Linked DNA regions of Homo sapiens: regions 1, 3 and 4 are each linked to region 2. The links are contacts of gene promoters, found by promoter capture Hi-C in blood cells and fetal thymus (Javierre and others, 2016). All regions are on one chromosome and are shown on one strand. Each heading gives the region's core, a stretch centred on a gene start or on the middle of the fragment in contact. The rest is flanking DNA. Distances are from core to core; before and after follow the strand shown.

What was found. The method cuts DNA at HindIII sites, captures the fragments that hold promoters and counts their contacts. A CHiCAGO score of 5 or more calls a contact.
Region 1: a contact is called between a fragment that was not itself captured here and the fragment with the promoter of PNPLA4 in region 2, in 6 of 17 cell types (naive B cells, fetal thymus, endothelial precursors and 3 more). The highest score is 12.9, in naive B cells.
Region 3: a contact is called between a fragment that was not itself captured here and the fragment with the promoter of PNPLA4 in region 2, in 2 of 17 cell types (naive B cells and total B cells). The highest score is 7.4, in naive B cells.
Region 4: a contact is called between a fragment that was not itself captured here and the fragment with the promoter of PNPLA4 in region 2, in 1 of 17 cell types (fetal thymus). The highest score is 11.9, in fetal thymus.

Annotation. Positions count from the first base shown.
Region 1 is chrX:6,026,835-6,031,226 of GRCh38, reverse strand. NLGN4X (neuroligin 4 X-linked) reads left to right here. Exons shown (of 6, transcript NM_181332.3): 3 at 1,795-1,947. Among named protein-coding and RNA genes, the nearest start is that of NLGN4X, 200 kb to the left of the region's middle. RefSeq lists an enhancer at 3,606-4,179. The HindIII fragment of the contact is 2,571 bases long and covers 1,551-4,121 here.
Region 2 is chrX:7,925,036-7,929,845 of GRCh38, reverse strand. PNPLA4 (patatin like domain 4, phospholipase and triacylglycerol lipase) reads left to right here and starts at 2,433. Exons shown (of 7, transcript NM_004650.3): 1 at 2,433-2,560; 2 at 3,714-3,906. The coding sequence starts at 3,727. LOC107985675 (a long non-coding RNA gene) reads right to left here and starts at 2,346. Exons shown (of 5, transcript XR_001755784.2): 1 at 433-2,346. RefSeq lists enhancers at 1,826-1,905, 2,246-2,295, 2,316-2,555, 2,786-3,015, 3,678-3,727 and a silencer at 3,704-3,998. The HindIII fragment of the contact is 3,086 bases long and covers 1,805-4,810 here.
Region 3 is chrX:6,007,377-6,011,932 of GRCh38, reverse strand. All of the region lies in intron 3 of NLGN4X (neuroligin 4 X-linked), which reads left to right. Among named protein-coding and RNA genes, the nearest start is that of NLGN4X, 220 kb to the left of the region's middle. The HindIII fragment of the contact is 1,161 bases long and covers 1,027-2,187 here.
Region 4 is chrX:6,221,220-6,225,853 of GRCh38, reverse strand. The region is part of intron 1 of NLGN4X (neuroligin 4 X-linked); the gene reads left to right. Among named protein-coding and RNA genes, the nearest start is that of NLGN4X, 5.3 kb to the left of the region's middle. The HindIII fragment of the contact is 3,861 bases long and covers 1,400-4,634 here.

The DNA of each region.
Region 1 (4,392 bases), core at 1,587-4,086, 1.9 Mb after region 2:
TATCCTGTTTGGCCTTCTCTTTTTAATACATTTCCTCTCGATAATTAGAATCTGTTTTCACAGTGTTCCCAGTGAATCTTTATTACCATTAAAATGCCATCTAATTTTCATTTCATATTGTTAAGTTATGATTTTTTGACTTTGCATTAATATAACAGCTGGTTATTACTTCCACAAGTTCAAGAGAGTCTTGTTCTATATTTTATGAAAGGTAAGAGATGTTAATCTCACATATTTTCCAAGGGAGCACTTTAAAGCAGCCCTTCAAAATCTCTACTTACTCTTTTTTCCACAATTTACTAGGCAACCGCTGGTAATGGTAAAAGAAATGAGGCCAAAAACAGCAAATTAGGAACCAGAAAGAAGCAGTGGATCATGAGAAAAGCCATTTCTTATTCATATAGCAGAAGACATTTCCCGTAGTGTATGATGAATAAATGATTAATAGAAGATTTTTACTTCATATTTGAATTTTATATGAGAAAACAAAAGACACTTTTCTGCCGTGGATTAAATATCTGCAAATAAATACTTGGGTAACTTGACACTCTTTTGTGTGCTTTACTGTGACCAATGGGTATGTCGTGTCTTCTGTATGCACCCAGTAAAATTGTGATCATAATTCATTCAAATTGGAGCCACCATCCAAACGATGGTAATTCATATCCTCAGAATTCCTTTGTGGTATTTCAAAAGTGTCCCTGTGGATTATGAGGAAAAAAAAACTTTATTGATGAAGAAATTGAAAATAAATATGCATAAATACTTGAGTTTTCTTTTAGTTACAAAGATATTTAAATTGTACACACACACACACACACACACACACACATATCTGTATCCAGAAATATTTATACGTGAGGTCAGTCTTCCAAAGATTAAATGCAGCCCTAATGGCTGATTAATGTTATAAAACAGGTCTTTTTCACAAAGCAGGCCCTACAGATGGTCTCCAACTTTCTATCATCACAGATCATTGTTTTTACATCATTGTTAATTTAAATAATAAAGTAAATTACCAAGAGGAATCATTGGTTGCAAGTCACAATGGGAGTTTATATTCCCTGTGAAAATATAAAGCATTTAAATAGTTTGGATTCTTTTGCCATTTTTTATTACATCTCTTTTATTTTTGTCACCTAAGTATGTTAGTATGTTACTGTAATCACTGGAACAAAGACATTTGCTTGGACATCTTTTCTTTTTTTTCCCTATTTCTGTTCAGTTAATAATTTTTAACTGTTGATTTTGCTTTCTTGTCATTATCTGTCCCTTATTGATAGTTTATAGCTTCACTACTACTTTTATGTTTTTATTGTTAAATTGAAGATGAATCTGTACACTCACCTGCGAATTAAGATGCAACTATATTAAAATTAATTATAATTTTGAAGTTGATTTTATACTTAATTAGAAGATAAAATATATTTCATCAAGGGTCCCATGTGTTTATTCAATTTAAATCACATTTTAGGGTTTGAGCAAAATTTAGGAAATGTGTACTTTACCTAAAACCATTTCTTTTAGTGCTTTAGATATATATAGAAGCTTAGATGAGCAGAGTACGCTAAATGTCTGTATGCTTCTTAAAATACCATTTCCATAAATAGAAAACGTAATAGCATTGATCATTTTCCTTAGACACTCTTATCAAGGGTCATATCATCCATAAAAATAAATGTGCTTAATTCAAGTCAAAATAGGGAAATCAGTGAATCTCCTTTTTTCTTAATTTAGCATTGGTGAGTCAGTGTGATTCTTTATTGTGTTTCCTTACTTGGCTTTTTTTTCCAGATATTCATGATCAGAACAGTAAGAAGCCCGTCATGGTCTATATCCATGGGGGATCTTACATGGAGGGCACCGGCAACATGATTGACGGCAGCATTTTGGCAAGCTACGGAAACGTCATCGTGATCACCATTAACTACCGTCTGGGAATACTAGGTAAGTGATTTCATCATGTGAATGACTGAGCAAGAGGAAACATGAAAAGTCCACTTCTCGTTTTGACGGGGCTCGTGGATTTGAATCCTGTTATTCCAGTTCCTGGTTAATTCCACTTCACGGTATTTACTTTATGTGATTGGATATGTTTATTCCTTTTACTACCTTTGTGCAACATGGTCATGAATCCCTTCTCAAACCAATGCAGACTTTAAGATCTTAAAGATGAAATGAAATTTTATTTATAGCATGTTTCTCCCTTGGAGTTCAATGAATGTATGTTTGTCTACATAGACCTGTACAATGAACACATATTTGGTGATATTATAGTTGGGAATGGCCATAGATCTTAGCTTTCTTTTCTGATTGTGTCATTGTATGAATCAGTATATTGTGTGGAGGAAAAGATTTTATCCAATTCTCTAACTGATTATGTTGAGCCTTTGGAAGATCTGTTGTTTTGGTTCCATTGCATTTGCATGCAGGGAAACTTAGCTGTTAGTTGACTTTTGTCCATTGATGATCTACGATTAAAGGCTAAATACATGGAAATTCAAGTTTAGTTCCTCCTTGTTTTGATGTTTCATTTCTTTTCTTTCTTTCTTTTTTTTTTTTTTCTTTGAGATGGAATCTCACTCTGTCGCCCAGGCTGGAGTGCAGTGGTGCGATCTTGGCTCACTACAACCTCTGCCTCCCGGGTTCAAGTGATTCTTCTGCCTCAGCCTCCCAAGTAGCTGGGACTACAGGCGCATGCCACCACACTCAGCTAATTTTTGTGTTTTTAATAGAGACAGGGTTTCACCATATTGACCAGGCTGGTCTCGAACTCCTGACCTCGTGATCCGCCTGCCTCGGCCTTCCAAAGTGCTGGGATTACAGGTGTGAGCCACTACGCCCGGCCATCATTCATCTTCTTCTAATTGTAGGTTGGAAAATTATACATCTTCAGAGTCAGATTTCAGTACCTTCTGAGATGGCCTTTCCTGGTGTTGGTTAGTTTGTGAATAATATTCCTAAGACCTATGTAAAAACATTTGTTTTCCAGGCAAAAATGCATTAAAATGGTATAGAAGATAAAGTTTTTAACAAGTTAGCCATGAGAGAGATGTGTATATTGGTTCCAGTGTGATTATGATACAATATGAAATACAAAACAAAATGAAGGCCAGGTGTGGTGGCTCTCGCCTATAATCCCAGCACTTTGGGAGGCCCAGGCAGGCAGATCACTTGAGGTCAGGAATTAGAAAACAGCCTGACCAAAGTGGTGAAACCCTGTCTCTACTAAAAATACAAAAATTAACTGGGCCTGATGGCAGGCGCCTGTAATCCCAGCTACTCAGGAGGCTGAGGCGGGAGAATCTCTGGAACCCAGTAGGTCGAGGTTGCAATGAGCAGAGATAGCGCCATTGCACTCCAGCCTGGGTGACCGAGTGAGACTTTTCTCAAAAAAAAAAAAATAATAATAATACTAGTAATAAATTAATTAAAATAAAAAGCAAAATAAGATGGACTAAAGGAGGTCTGTCAAACAAGAAATATGACTGAAAATGTTTTCTTCAAATATGGCCAAGAATATTTTCTTTTCAATCAGATGACTTCATTTCATTTTGAGTGGGTTTTTTTTTTTCCTATGTGAAAACATTAACCTGTAAGAAGCCCTAAAAGGTGGTGAATTGCTGAGAAACCCTAAGAGGTGTTGTAAGAAACCCTAAGAGAAATGCATTTCTTACTTTGAAATGCAAATCAGTCACAGGTGTTGCTAAAGTTGTATCTTTTGAAACATTGATAAAGAACTCAAAATTCCAGGTTGGTTTCTGCATTAAAGAAAATAAACACCACCAAAAAACCTTTTAGTGTCAAAAAACTTATTATGTCGTTGGCTTTATTTCCTATATTTTTTGTAGTTTTCTGTGAGCCACATCTTGGCGGAATAATGTCTCTGAACTTTTGCATAGCAGTAATTGCACGCTTCACTGAATAGTTTTCAGAGGCGCTGGATAGTTGCTTTGGCTACTAGTGTTGGAAACAGGAAATTGTGCTTCTTGATGTTTTACAAAAGGTTCATTCTGACAAAGAGGTGGAAGGAGGAAAGTATGTGTGAGGGCATTGCACAGGCCCTCTTCAAAGGGAGCAGTGTGTGCACTGCCTGTAGCACGGCCACACGGAAGAAAGCTTGGGCATGCTTTTCTGAGGGAAGCAGTGGGCATCAAGAAAATTCTTGCTTTGCTGGAACCACACAATATTCTGTTGCATGCGTGATGAATTGATGTGTCTGATAAGATAGAGTTTCAAAATAAATTGATCTCCTTTTCCCCCTAAAGCTCAGTTGTATCAAGCAACTCTACACTATGATTTTTTTTTTATCAGTTTTGTCCCTTCGTGAATCAATTGCACATCTTGCAAATTAGCCTGGAAAGTATACACACTTTTTTTAGAGGAAAAAAA
Region 2 (4,810 bases), core at 1,184-3,683:
CAATTAAATTACTATATATTCAGATCACAATGGTAATTTACATAAATCCAACATCCAAAACAAATATTTATTGATCATATACTATGGGCCAAGTGCTAAGCTTGGCGATGAGATGACAAAGACAAATGTGAATGAATATATCCTTCCTTACATTAGAAAGCTGAACTTTTTTTGTTTTTTGTTTTTTCTTTAGAGATGAGGTCTCACTACATTGCTCTGGCTGAAGATGAACTCCTAGGTTCAAGCAATCCTCCCACCTCAGCTTCCTGAGTGGCTGAGACTACAGGCACATGCCACCTCACCCAGCTGAGAGCTGAACTTTTAACTAGTTACATGGAGATATGATACGGGATTGAAGGGAGTAAGGAGGAAATAAATTTAAAATTTTAAGAGTTAAATTATGGAGCATTTTGCTGCTCCAAAGAGACTTACCTTTGGTGAGCTCTCACTCTGCCAGCCAGGTGTAGAAATAGTGGATGCCCTTATCTTTCCTTTAAGTGAAAGATATCAAAGTTGTGGTGTTCATCCAGGCTGCCCGGTGATAAAGTTTTCACCTGTCTCCTGAATCGACCTGCTGACAGTGTCCAAATGCAGGAAATAACTTGCTCTGTAAACAGCATCCCAGATTCTGGTTCTGTAAATCCAGTCTCTCCTTAAACTTCTGATGCCACCACATCACTTTAAACCAGACCACCTGTCTTAATCCATTCAGGCTGCTATAATAAAGTAGCATTGACTGAGTGTTTATAAAAGAAATTTATTTCTCACAGTTCTGGAAGATGGAAGTCTGAGATCAAGGTGCCAAGATGGTCAGGTTCTGAGGAGGGCCCTTTTCCAGTTTGCAGATTGCCATCTTCTCCGTGTACTTTTATCCTTACATGGTGGAAAGAGACCTCTCTGGGGTCCCTTTTCTAAGAGTACTAATCCCATTCATGAGGGCTTCACCCTCATGACTTAATTACCTCCCAAAGGCCCCACCTCCTAATACTATCACCTTGGGGGTTAGTATTTCAATATGTGAATTTTGGAGGTATACATGCAAACAATAACACCACCAAAGGAGTTAGACCACTGCTTCAGGATTCTGTTAAAACGCAGATGCCGACTCAGATCAGAGATGGGACCTGGGATCCTTCCTTTCTCATGAGCTTCCTGGAAGATGCAGTTCTGGGGAGGATCACACTCGACCTTAAAGAGCTAGAAGATTGTGGAAGGTTTAAGGACTGGAGTGTGTCCTGTATTTTCCTAATGTACGTTGTGCCTTCCCTTCACTAAATTCCGGTAGAGGTAAAGAATTCTGAGTAATGCAGTCATTCTACGATAAGGCAATAAGGTGTTTCAGGATCAATTTTCTCTAAAGAATAGTTATGTGAATTAAAAACATCTTCCCTAATCGTCACATCAAGGACTCACAGGTGTTGTTGGCCAGAGACGATACACCAAAACAGAAAGAAAAAGCCCAAACCAGAGGCAATTTGGAGAGCTCCACCCCTCCTCCCTGTTTTGTCTAAGGTAGAGACATTCTCGCAGACGCTCCTTTGTAGCCTCAGAGAAAGTAAATCTCTGCCCTTAAACTAGGGGACCTGGAGAGCCTTCAATCACGAAGTCAGGGATTCCTCCAGGCTTGGTTATTAGGATTAGATAAGGAAAACACCGTTTGGGGAGAGAAAGAATTATCAGAGTCCTTTAAATCTTGGTGGGCATGGCAGGCATCTTGGCGGTCGTTGAAGCTGCTTAAGTCTGAGCCAAAGGTGCCAGAGGACAAAACAGCCACCTGCTCACGGCCCCCTATGTGGAAAAAGCTTTCCAATTTAGCTCTCTCATTTTAGCATCTCAATCTGCACATAAGGCACGCGGGAAACTCAGAGAGGTTATGCTACCTGCTCAAGGTCACACAGCCTAAGGTCAACTGAGGATATGAAAGTTCCCCAGAGTCATAGTCCAGCTTTTCCTTTAGATAGCACTTCTTAAAAAAACCAAAGGCACGCCTTGAAAAGCTGCGGGATGTCCAGCCCCAAAATAGCCGCTGGAGTTGGCCCCTAGGGGCAGCTGGACCGCCCAGGCGGGCGAAAGGGTGGAGAGGGAGAAGAACCACTTCCGGGAAACAGACGCGAAGAGGGTAAGGCACTTCCGGGGCACAGAAAATGAGGATTATTAAAGGTCAGTTGCTCGCAGGTAAGGGCCAAGTAGCGTTAAAAGACACGTAAGGATTACAACGCCTCTCTAGGGTGTGGGTTAAAATGTCTCTCTAGGTACTCGAAGATAACATGACTCTAAACGAGGAATCCTTGCCTGCGCTGGAGGACGCTCCGGTCTAGCGGCCAGGTTGAGTCCAGAAGTTTAAATAGAGCAGGCGGGGCCTAGCGGGCGCCTTCGTCGGCGCGATGACGTCACATACCTGCGCGGGAGGCGGTACCAACCCCTGCCGCAGGACTTTCCTGGGCCGGCTCGCGGAGAGCGTAGCGCGGCCTTGGTGGCGGAATGGCGTTGAGTGACGGCCCGGCCCCGCCATCTGGTTAAAGGGACTCGTTCAACACGGAAGTGTCCCGGGGCTGCATTGGTACGGAGCCCTGGGGCCCAGCAAGGGTGTGCTCCTGCGGGACTGATGCGGGGACCACCCCGGCCCTGCCGGCCTCCAAGCCGCGGGAGGGCACTGAGCCTGTGCTGGCTGGGCCTGGCCGCCTGGTTGCTACACACCCAACCCCCTTCCCGTCCCCATTTGCAGAAGTGGAATCAAAACTGGGGCTTGACCCCGGATCGATGACTGGGACTCAGCCTACGCGGACGCCAGCGCAGCCTGCGGCGGCCGAGCCACCTGCCCTCACAGGGCCTGGCCGGGTGCATCAGGAACAGGCGGTCTTAGGTCCCTAAATTCGAGGCCCTGTAATGTGCCTCATCTTGGGGTCCCTGAATGGGGCCCTTGGGCCCCCAAGGAAACCCTGAGACCTTCAGAATGGACAGCCTTGTGGAGGCACAATTTCATTCACTTGGGCAAATTGTGCGCACTGAGGCATAGGAAAACATGTAATTTTGTATTTAGATGTGTTCCAAGTATAAAGTGGCGTGGCTGACATTTCATAGAGCCTTAAATTGCCTTCACCAGGCATGACCTCAGTTTGTGTTGAGATACTTGGCAAAGAAATGTATTGCATTGTTGAGTGATTGCTTATTGCGTTACTGAGTAATTGTATTGGCGTTCATAAAAGCATGGGTGCTCACAATAGAAATTGGGAAGGGGAGTAGGGAACTGTATTTGAAATCTTCTGATACACTTACCAAGAACAAATGTATTGTTCATTTGGAATTTGATACGGTCTCTAATAATTTTCTGTTTCATAATGGTAGTGCCGCCCCCACCCGCAAAACGTTTCAAAGGGTCAAGAGAAAAGACCAAATGCCCTTGTCAACTGGAATTTATACGTCTGTTTCCTGCCAAGTAATTAAATCGTAGATTCATAATCTATGTACCGAATAAATGTGGAATGTTTTTGTTTTGTTTTGTTTTAATGTATAAGACTTGGGTCAAGGTGAGGAGGGAAAGAAAGGGTTTCCTTGAAAGATTCTTGTGTTTAATTAGAATTAATTGAAACCACTGTGCTTAAAACAGAGAATGATGTTAGAAGAAAGCCTTGGAACGATGATCAACATAAGACTACACAGTATGTGGGATAAACTATTCCAACTTACAGCATTTTTGTTTTTTGTATTGCCAGTGCTACAGCTAGAATGAAGCACATCAACCTATCATTTGCAGCGTGTGGATTTCTGGGCATTTACCACTTGGGGGCAGCATCTGCACTTTGCAGACATGGCAAAAAACTTGTGAAGGATGTCAAAGCCTTCGCTGGGGCGTCTGCGGGATCGTTGGTTGCTTCTGTTCTGCTAACAGCACCAGAAAAAATAGAGGTAATTAAGTAGTAACTTAGGCTGTGTTCCTCATCAAGAAATTAAGACCCAAAGGCAAACACCAGCATTGACTCTACTAAGTTAACACTGCAGAGAAATAATCGTTTGCTTGGAAACAGAAAGGATTAGGACTTTTCTCTTAAGATGTAATTATTAGGGATCTGTGCTCTGGTTGTGGAAAAGATTATTTTGGGTGATAGTGAAATAAGGAAATAAAATGACTTATATTACTCTTGAGTTTTTATTTATCCTTAAGATTCCAGCTCTGTTCCTTTCAAGCAAAGGATATTTCTTCTTTCTATGATCATGAGAAGAGCATGGGGCCTGTTTTCAAGGCCTTGAACATGTGGGCAACAAGTCTTACCTCACTGCTACTTAGAAATAGATACATAAATTAAAATGTGGGCATGCAGTTTCTATTAAGTGGAATGGTATAGGAATTTAATTCTTTTTTAATTCTCACAGTAAGAGGAAGCTCTGAGTTCCAAGCAATTTATCCAGAAGTAATACAAATAATTATTCATTAAGTACTTTATTTAATGCAATCTATGTTTTAAAATCTGTTTTCTGCTATCCAGACAGTGATCAATCATTTGCTGACTGTGAGAGCTGGATTCCGTAGTTGGAGAATATTATATTTGTTAATCATTACGTACTCTAGCAGCTTTGAACAATAATGAAATAACAATTTAACACCCTCATACCCAAGAATGAATTTCAGTCACATTTAAAATTCCAAAACTATGCAATGTTAAACATCAGAATCTCATTTCAGATCTTTTGTGAGCTGCTTATCAAAGGGAAGCTAGATTTGAGGCCAATCATTCAGAAATCCACCTATCTTCCTGTCTTTATATGGTTGATTTACAGGGAACTAGAAAAGTGATTTAAAAACTGCAGAGAT
Region 3 (4,556 bases), core at 358-2,857, 1.9 Mb after region 2:
TCATTTTTTTTTTCAAACTCAACTGTTTCATAGCCTTCTCTTTAGAACATATCTGATTTACCAGAACCCAAGATTTGTGAGATGGTGTTATTTTTTATCTTTACTTTTTCCTCACCCCACGGTACCATGAAGAGATCGTGTAACATCCTTTCCTGGTTTTAAAGACAGGTGAGTAACGATTACATAACGTTCAAACAAGTCAGGTGTTCTCCAGAAGATGGTGTTAATGGTGTCTGATTCACAGATGCTGCCTTGACCCCTGGCGGTGGTAGGACCTATATTCTGGTGAAAGCCAATTTTAGGCCATGGATTATAGGACCTAGATGGAGAAAAACGATACCTAAACCTCATGAGATCTTAATTCACTGATCGGTGGAGAGATATTTTTCTTTCAGATGGTATCATCTTATTGCATCTCCAGCAGAGTGTTTGGCCGGTGAAAATAAAAATGGCCATTATAAAGAAGTTCTTTAGACTTTTAAAAATTTTACTAGGATCATGCCAGAAATTCCTGCTGTAGAAGTAGATATGTATGTGTGTATACATATATATATATATATATATATTTCTGAATTTGAGATGTTGGGTATTGGTAGAGATTCATTCATTTGAATGGAAATACGCTTGCTTTACTTTTGGCCAGCATGAATGCTCTCATTTGCCACAGGTTGGCAAGCTTATTGGTTTAAATATAAAGGATCTTGTGGGTAAGACTAACAGCAGGTTTTCATAGTGCCAACATTTCTTTCTTTTTTATTATCATATTTAGGAAAGTCTCTTGACTCTGAGATACTTTATATTGTGAAATAATAGTTCTGGTGCAAGTATAGATTAATAGATTATTAAACACTTTAAGATATGGATGGAAGAGTACAACTAGGATATTATTAATGAGTCCCATTTACTATTCTTTAATTTGCAGTGGAATTTTCATTTAACTTTTGAATATACCAATGATAGGAAGTTAGTAGTGTTTGCCTGTAATTTATCCTGAGCTCATTTATTTGAAGTTCAAATTTGAAAGCTTCCTTTTGTTGTTTGGTAAATAGAGATTATTGTGATTCAAAATGAGTAATCCCTAAATTGATGTAGAAAAAGATATTTGAGGCTGGGCACAGTGACTCACGCCTGTTATCCCAGCACGTTGGGAGGCTATGGGAGGTGGATCACTTGACCAGGAGTTTGAGACCAGCCTGGCCAACATGGCAATACCCCGTCTCTACTATGAATACAAAAATTAGCTGGGCATGGTCTCACAAACATGTAATCCCAGCTACTTGGGAGGCTGAGACCCAAGAATCGCTGGAGCCTGGGAGGCGGAGGTTGTAATGAGCTGAGATTGTACCACTGCACTCCACCCTGGGCGACAGAGCAAGACTTCGTCTAAAATAATAATAATAATAATAATAATAATAATAAAATAAAAAGAACTTTGAGATATTCATATTGTCCAAAAAGTATAATTCAAATACTTAATGCAGAAGGCAGTAGGATCACTAAACTACAGACTCATTCATCAATTATAACAGATGGAAGGGTCTTTGTTAGAGTCCTGGAGGCTGATTGAGCATTTTAAATGGCAGGTTCATAGGGGAGATCCAGGAGGTCTAAAGGTGAGGGTCTACAAGCAGGAAGCACCCCCACTCCCACCCCCAAATTCATGACAACAACACTAACTAGGCAGCAAAGGGATATTTCCTGATGTCAGCAGTCAGCAGAATGGTACTGAAGGTTGCTAGATAAATGCAAGTTTTGTAGTCACTCACCTGCAAGTTATAGGCAAGATATTTATCTGTACTCCTACAGGAAATTAGCCCTAATTGACTGCTCTTAATCAGAACAAGACATTCTAACCTCTTATTCATGGTTAGCAGTATATCCCACTTGCTTCACTTTGTGATTCTCCATCACATTGGAATAACTGGACGTGGGATACATTTGGAATTGAGTCTCAAATTCAAATCGCCATAGAACCTGAAAAGAAAATGTAAGAAGAGACAAAACAGAAGAAAAATGCAGGATAGAGAGTTATGATTTAGATGTGTTCATTCTGTGAACAGAGAGCAGATTCTCTTGGATCTGGCTGAAACAGGGGCCCCCTGTGTTGTGAAAGTGGTGTATGTCTTCATACGTGTTCCCACGGGCCTGGACAACCAACCACATTTGAAAAATGAAGAAATGAAAGCTTGTGGTCAGGGTCACAAAACTTGACAGTGGCAGAAGTGGATCCAATTTCCAGTCAAATCTATGACTCGTTCCATCTTGGCCACAATTATACTGCAACTCAATTGCTTTTCTTCCAGTCAGTACCCACCCACCGAAATGTCAGCTCTTCAAGGGCATTAATTGTTGTTTGTTTCATTCATTGTTGAGTCTTAGGAGCCTGGGACAGTACATTGAAAATCTCAATTGTTGACATTCTCAATAATACACAAGAAATCATGTTTTCAGATCATGGAAATCATATCCATTAGGATGGCTGTTAATAAAGTAAACGTAAAATAAGAAGTTGTAATGGAGATGTGGAGAAACTGGAACTCTTTCACATTGCTGGTGGGAATGTAAGATGGTACAGTCATTGTGGAAAACTCTTTGGCTGTTCCTCAAAAAAGTAAACATGGAACTACCATATGTGATCCAACAATTCTACCTCCGGGTATATACTCCAATTCTACCTCTGGGTATATACTCAAAAGAATTGAAAGCAGGAATTCCAGGAGATATTTGTATACGCAGTCCTTAACCATGTTATTCACAATAGCTAAAAACTGAACTTTTGAACTAGCCAACTATCCATTGATGGATGAATGGATAAACAAGTGATATATATGTATATATTTATGCGTGTACACACACACACACACACTGCTGAAATGGAATATTATTCAGCCCTTAAAAGAAAGGAAATTCTGATACATGCTACAACATAAATAAACCTTGAGGACATCATTCTAAGAGAAATAAGCTACATGCTAGTCACAAAAGGACAAAAGCTGTATGATTTTACCAATATGAGGTACGTAGAGTTGTCAAATTCACAGAGGCAAAAAGTTGAATGGTGTTTGTGTGCGGCTGAGAGGCGGAGAGAATGGAAAATTATTTCCTAATGGATAGAGTTTCAGTTTGGAAAGGTACAAAATGTTCTGAAGATAGATGGTGGGGACAGTTGGACAATAATGTGACTGTTCTTAAGGCCACTCAATTATACACCAAAAAATAGTTTAAATGATCAATTTCATATTCTCTATATCACAGTAAAATAAAACATTATGGTATCTGTGATTTAATTGACTATTTGTAATCATCACCATGTTAGAGCATGTTCAGTATCTCATATCCTGCAATATTGGAATGGACATGGTAATTTTTGAGTGGTAGAAAATAAAGTAACTTTTAAAAACCCATCTCTATGTATTCACATAATCTTACATTTCATATAAGTGAAATCATACACTCTATATCTCATTTCTTTCTCCTAATAAAATGTTTACAAGGTTTACAAGGTTCATCCACATTGTAGCATGTATCAATCAGTACCGCATGCTGGTTTATGGCTGGATACTATTCCATTGTATGATAGACCGCATTCTGTTATGTTTATCTATTTTTCATTTGATGGATATTTGGATTCAATTCATAGAGACAGAAAGTAGATTAGTGGTTGCTGGTGCTTGGAAGAGGACTATAGGGAATTAGCGTGTCATGGTTACAGAGTTTCAGTTTGCGAACATGAAAAATTTCTAGAGATAGATTCACAAAAATGCAAATATACTAAATGACATTGAACAGAACAGTACACTTTAAAATGGTTCACTTTATGTTACGTGAATTTCCTCTTAAATAGAAGAAAAATAAAGTCTGAAGTTGTCATATCCTTCACTGGGATGCTCTCTTTAAAAGTGTAGAAAGGTCCTGAAAGGAGCATATAAACAAACTAAACAACAATCAAACAAAACATGTCATCGTACCCCACAGCATCCTGACATGGAAGACTAAAAACTGTCCCAGGGCTCTCTTCTTCCTTATCTGTTACTTTCAGGGGCATTTTAGCTTAGGATTTAATTTGACTATTGACAACCCCAGTGTCTCCATTTGATCTCAGAGCAAACTTGAATTGATAATTAAATTTCCATGCTTTTGACCAGGGAAAGACTTTAGGAAATGTCTTTGAAACTGTGAACTTGCAGAAAGGAGAAAATTTTATATGTATCTAGCTTCTATCCATTCCATTTGTCATATGGTCAGAACTTACATGATGCAAGCAGGCCATTTACAGGGCCCTGGGCTGACAGCTACATGCTATATTTTGTATTTGCTTCCACTATTTTGTTAGCAAATGTATGTACTTACTAACAAAATACGTGTTTTAAGAAATAAAATTATTTTAAGAACAAAATAATACAATGTTTTAAGAAAACCTGCTTTTATTTGCTTTTTATTTTTTATTTAAAAATGTTTATAAATTTATGGGTGTTACAAATTCAGTTTTGTTATATGGGTATATTCATAGTGGTGATGTCGGGGCTTTTAGTGTACTCATCACCCGAATAGTGGAA
Region 4 (4,634 bases), core at 2,081-4,580, 1.7 Mb after region 2:
CTTTTTGAAGGCATCCGTTGCCCGTAGGGTTTACATCGGAGCGCGTTGCATTATATTTTCTTGAAAGGGGGTGGTGTGCGTGAGCTCCCATCTCAGAATCAGCCCTTCCGGTGATGTGAGGAAGGCAAAAGCAAAAAAAAAAAAAAAAAAAAAAAAAAAAAAAAGAAAAAAAGAAAGAAAAAAAAGGAAAAGAAAAAGTTTAGGGAGACCTCGTTATCCTGACGAAGCAGAATTGCCAGTTTGTGTGGGCGTTCTGCGGGCAACATAGAAGTGCATGCTTAAGAAATCCGGGGTAGCTTCCTTCTCCAGCTAGAAATTAAATGGCCAGGGTGCAAACACCTGACTTTGATGAGAACAAAGCGGCAGAAACTGCAAGAGACCTGCATGGTTTGAATGGACGCACTGAGCCTTTTCCTAGGGGATGGCAGAGCGGGGTGAAATCAGATAGCAAAGAAATCTGCCGTTTTGTGGGGGCAGATTTGGAGAGTGGAGAATTATTTCATACCTTTAGTTGGCTGTGGGGAAGATGTTAGCAGTAATCCATTAAATCCTCAGCATAGATTTTCCTGTGGAAATGAGCAAAATGTTAAGTGGGGGAGGGATGGCTAATGGCACATGGTTGCATTAATCCCTGTATTTCCAGAAAAAAATATGGAATTTCTGTGTATCCTAAAATTAAGAATACAGGAATTTCATGGAGAACTCTGCAAGCATGTATTTTCTCAGATTAGAAATTCAGTATTTTATTACTCAATGAAATGTAGAATGCGTGTGTGTGTATGTGTGTATACAGACATACACACACGCATTCTACATTTCTACATATATGTGTGTGTGTGTGTATATATATATATATATATATATATATATATATATGGCCATTTTAAAGAGTATTTTCTTTGACATGTAAGAACATAATCAGGGCCAGTTGTAGCAAGTGGAAAATTACTTCATCAGTTTTAAGTCAGTAGATTAAAATGGAAGGCTTCATTTTTTTTTGAAATCAGAATAATAATTGCATTTTCATAATAATGCCTGTGCGTGGATGCAGTTTTAAAGATGCTTTGATGTTTTCTTCTCCAGTGGAAGAATTGCTACTTTTCTTTGCGTTTTATTTAAATAAACTAATGCCGAGTATACAGTTGGCCCTCAAACCAGTAACCTAGCTGATTTTTACCCAAACCTGAGAATGTAACAGATACTTGATAAGGGACTGGTGGCTGCATAAGGTAGATAATGAAGTTATCTTGATGCTGTGAAATTTACAAGCAGACTTGAAAGAATTTGAAAGTTCATAGTTGTTGGCCTGGAATGTAGCCTAATGGTAAATATATAGATTTTTTAAAATTTGTGAACTTGGCTATTTCATTGTTTTGTGTGTAGTAATTTGTGGAAAGCTTATAGTCTCTCCACAAAGATGAGAGTGTTGACTGACTCCGCAACAGAGACTTGCTTTTGGAAGTGCAGGGGTCTCTTTAAAAGCCATTTGGAATACTGTGCTTTTATTTCTAGACCACAACCAAAAGGTTCTCAAAAAACTAAACATTCAAGTGCACGAGGGAATGACCTCCGTTTAACATTCTTTCTTTTTAATTGGTACGCCACATTTCAAACCTTTTGTAATACTGTTGAATATTGCCAATAATGCAACTTGTTGAGCGAATGCATTGCATTCAAATGAAGTAGCAATATACAAATATTTTAAGTCCTTTAGTATCCTCCTTCTAAAGATAGGCTTATCTGGTTAAAATATACTTATATTCCAAATAAGGTGAGAGTTGGTCTTAAGATGTGAATGTCAAGTGTAAGAGACACGATTTTAGTTTGTAAACCAGAATGTATTCTTTCTGTACTGCTTTCTGCCTTTTAACAATATGTATTCTATTCCCAAATGGGGAAATATGTTCAGTTTAGTTTAAATCTGTTGCTCTTTTTGTGTGTGTTTTTGTCTGAGTACTGTACTTTTTCAGAGGAGAGACTTCGTCTCCTATTTAATTATGTGAATGGATATTCAGACAGATTTGAATAGCCACCACTGATTTCTTAAACTCCTGAGCTACCAGTTTTAAATCAAAGATACATCTTTTGCACAGTCAATTAGAGGAAGTGAGAATCAAAATTGAAGCCCAGGCTGCTGAGGCAATTAGGTCATCTGCTGTGCTCTCTACTACCATTCACTCAACGAATATTTTCCAGTTCTGTCATTTTTCTCTAAACAACCTACATTTGGACTTTGAAAGGCTCCACTGTTCTTTGTTAAGTGAACGGCAGTGTAGGAAGCCCTTCCTCATTTTTCTTGGAGCACAGTAGCACACATGAACAAGAAAAAAAAGAAGGTGATAGCTCCTAGCAGTTTGTCATTGTGCCATTTATAGGCTTTGAATAAATGTATAGATGAAAAGGCTTTCCCTCTGCAGGTGGTTACATTAAACAAAAAATAAGTAAATAAAAGCCTCATAAAATCATTACGGGAGTGGAAGGTTGGTGGTGGAAAACAGCCCATCTACCTCGGGCTGAGATTTCAAACTTTAGACATCTCGTGTTCAGTTCACGTGTCCCAGGTGTGTGCGGAACACCTCCATACACCACATCTTCCCAAGGCACTCTCATCTTCCCAGAAATGGTACCTGAAGGAGAACAGACCTAACCCCAACAATACTAAAATACGTATATAAAAAACTATATATAGTAAGATATGTATCCTACTATATAATATATATATGGTAATACATATTATAGTAAGGTCTGCATCATGTATATAAAAATACACTATATATCTTATTATTATATATATAGTGAGATGAGGTGTATTAATCCATTCTCAGGCTGCTAAAAAAGACATACCCAAGACTGGGTAATTTGTAAAGGAAAGAGGTTTAAATGACTCACAGTTCAGCATGGCTGGAGAGGCCTCAGGAAACTTACAATCATGGTGGAAGGGGAAGCAAATACTTCCTTCTTCACATGATGGCAGGAAGGAGAGGAATGAGAACCGAGTGAAGGGGGAAACCCCTTATAAAATCAACAGATCTTGTGAGAACTTACTCACTATCATAAGAATAGCATGGGGCAAACTGCCCCCATGATTCAATTACTTCCCACCACATCCCTCCACGACACGTGGGGATTATGGGAGCTACAATCCAAGATGAGGTTTGGTGGGGACAAAGCCAAACCATATCATGAGGTTTTATTGAATTTATTTGAGACAGGAAAAGAGTAATCCTCCATAATTTAGAAAGGAGATGAAGTACAATGAACATTTAGGTCCTCATTAGTTGAGGAATACATTTCAAAGAGAGAAATGTTAATTTCAGTATAGTGCTAATGAAACGATCTAGGCTTTCACTGCTCTCTGGAAATGTGGATAAATGGCCCAGAATTTTGTTTGGGTTGTTTTATTTAAAATGTATATTATATAAAGAAATCATGGTTTGTCAAAGTAACAGAGTGCTATTTTTGGCTTACAACAGGACTTTCTTAGCTCCACCTGTTAATATCGGTGATCATTTTGGTTTTAAGAGGCTGGTACCTGATTGGATGATGAAAACTTGGATCTCAAAGCCATCACCCCAGACATGTGATTTTATTAACATCTGTGGGCATCTGTCCGGCTCCCACATCAACCCTTCATCCAGGCTCATTTTCTGTTTGTTTTTGTTTGGTTGTTTGTATGCTTTGGTTGGGGAGAGGGGACACGGATTTTGCTAAGGGCACCTTTTTCAGGAGTGAAACTTAGCCTGTCATATAAGCTGAAAAGGAACTTGGGTTGTTTCAAGTTGCATTACTTGGTAAGTTTTTGGATCCTTTAAAAAAGAAAGGACTGAGGTTACTAAAAGTGTTATTGGCACTGATAAAAGAGCTATGGTGAATTGTGGTTTGTTTTTGTAAAGTGCAGAAAAGGCCTCTTTGGTTCTGTGATGATGGCTGTGGTGAAGTTGCATGCGGTGCCATTTTCCATGTTTAGTATTTCAACACCACCAATATGTGGCTCTGGAGTATGGGACGGGCAAGTCCAAGAACTCAGTGAGGCATGCCGTGTGACTCCAATGGTCAGAGCTGTTCAGCATGGAACTGTGGTCTCAAAAGCATGGGGGATGGGGGCAGAAGAAGCTCGCTGCAACTGAGTGCCTTTAACTTATTCCACTCTTCAGTACTCTCTGTGACTATAACTCTGTGAATGGGTTAGGTGGGGAAACTCACAAAAGTAAATGCATGTTTTCACAAACAAAATATGTCATTGTTAACTGTTTTCCTAAGTGAGACAATATGCCCTCATGCCCTGAAGCTACATGGTAAGAATGGCAGTGTGTATGAGCGGGTGTATACACATACATGTATGCATATGCTAACACATTAACTAGGAACTAGTCTTTGCTGAAAATGTTTTTCTCAGCCATTGCAACACATTAGATAAAAGCAAATATATATATATATATATATATATATATATATATATATAATATAAGAAGGAAAAATGTGGTTTTCCATTATTTTCTTTTTCTTATCCTCATCATTCACCAAATCTATATTAAACAACTCATAACATCTGGCCTGGGTAATAGAGTGAGACCCCAACTCCACAAAGAAACAAAAATTAAAAACAAATTAGCCGGGCCTGATGGCAAGTACCT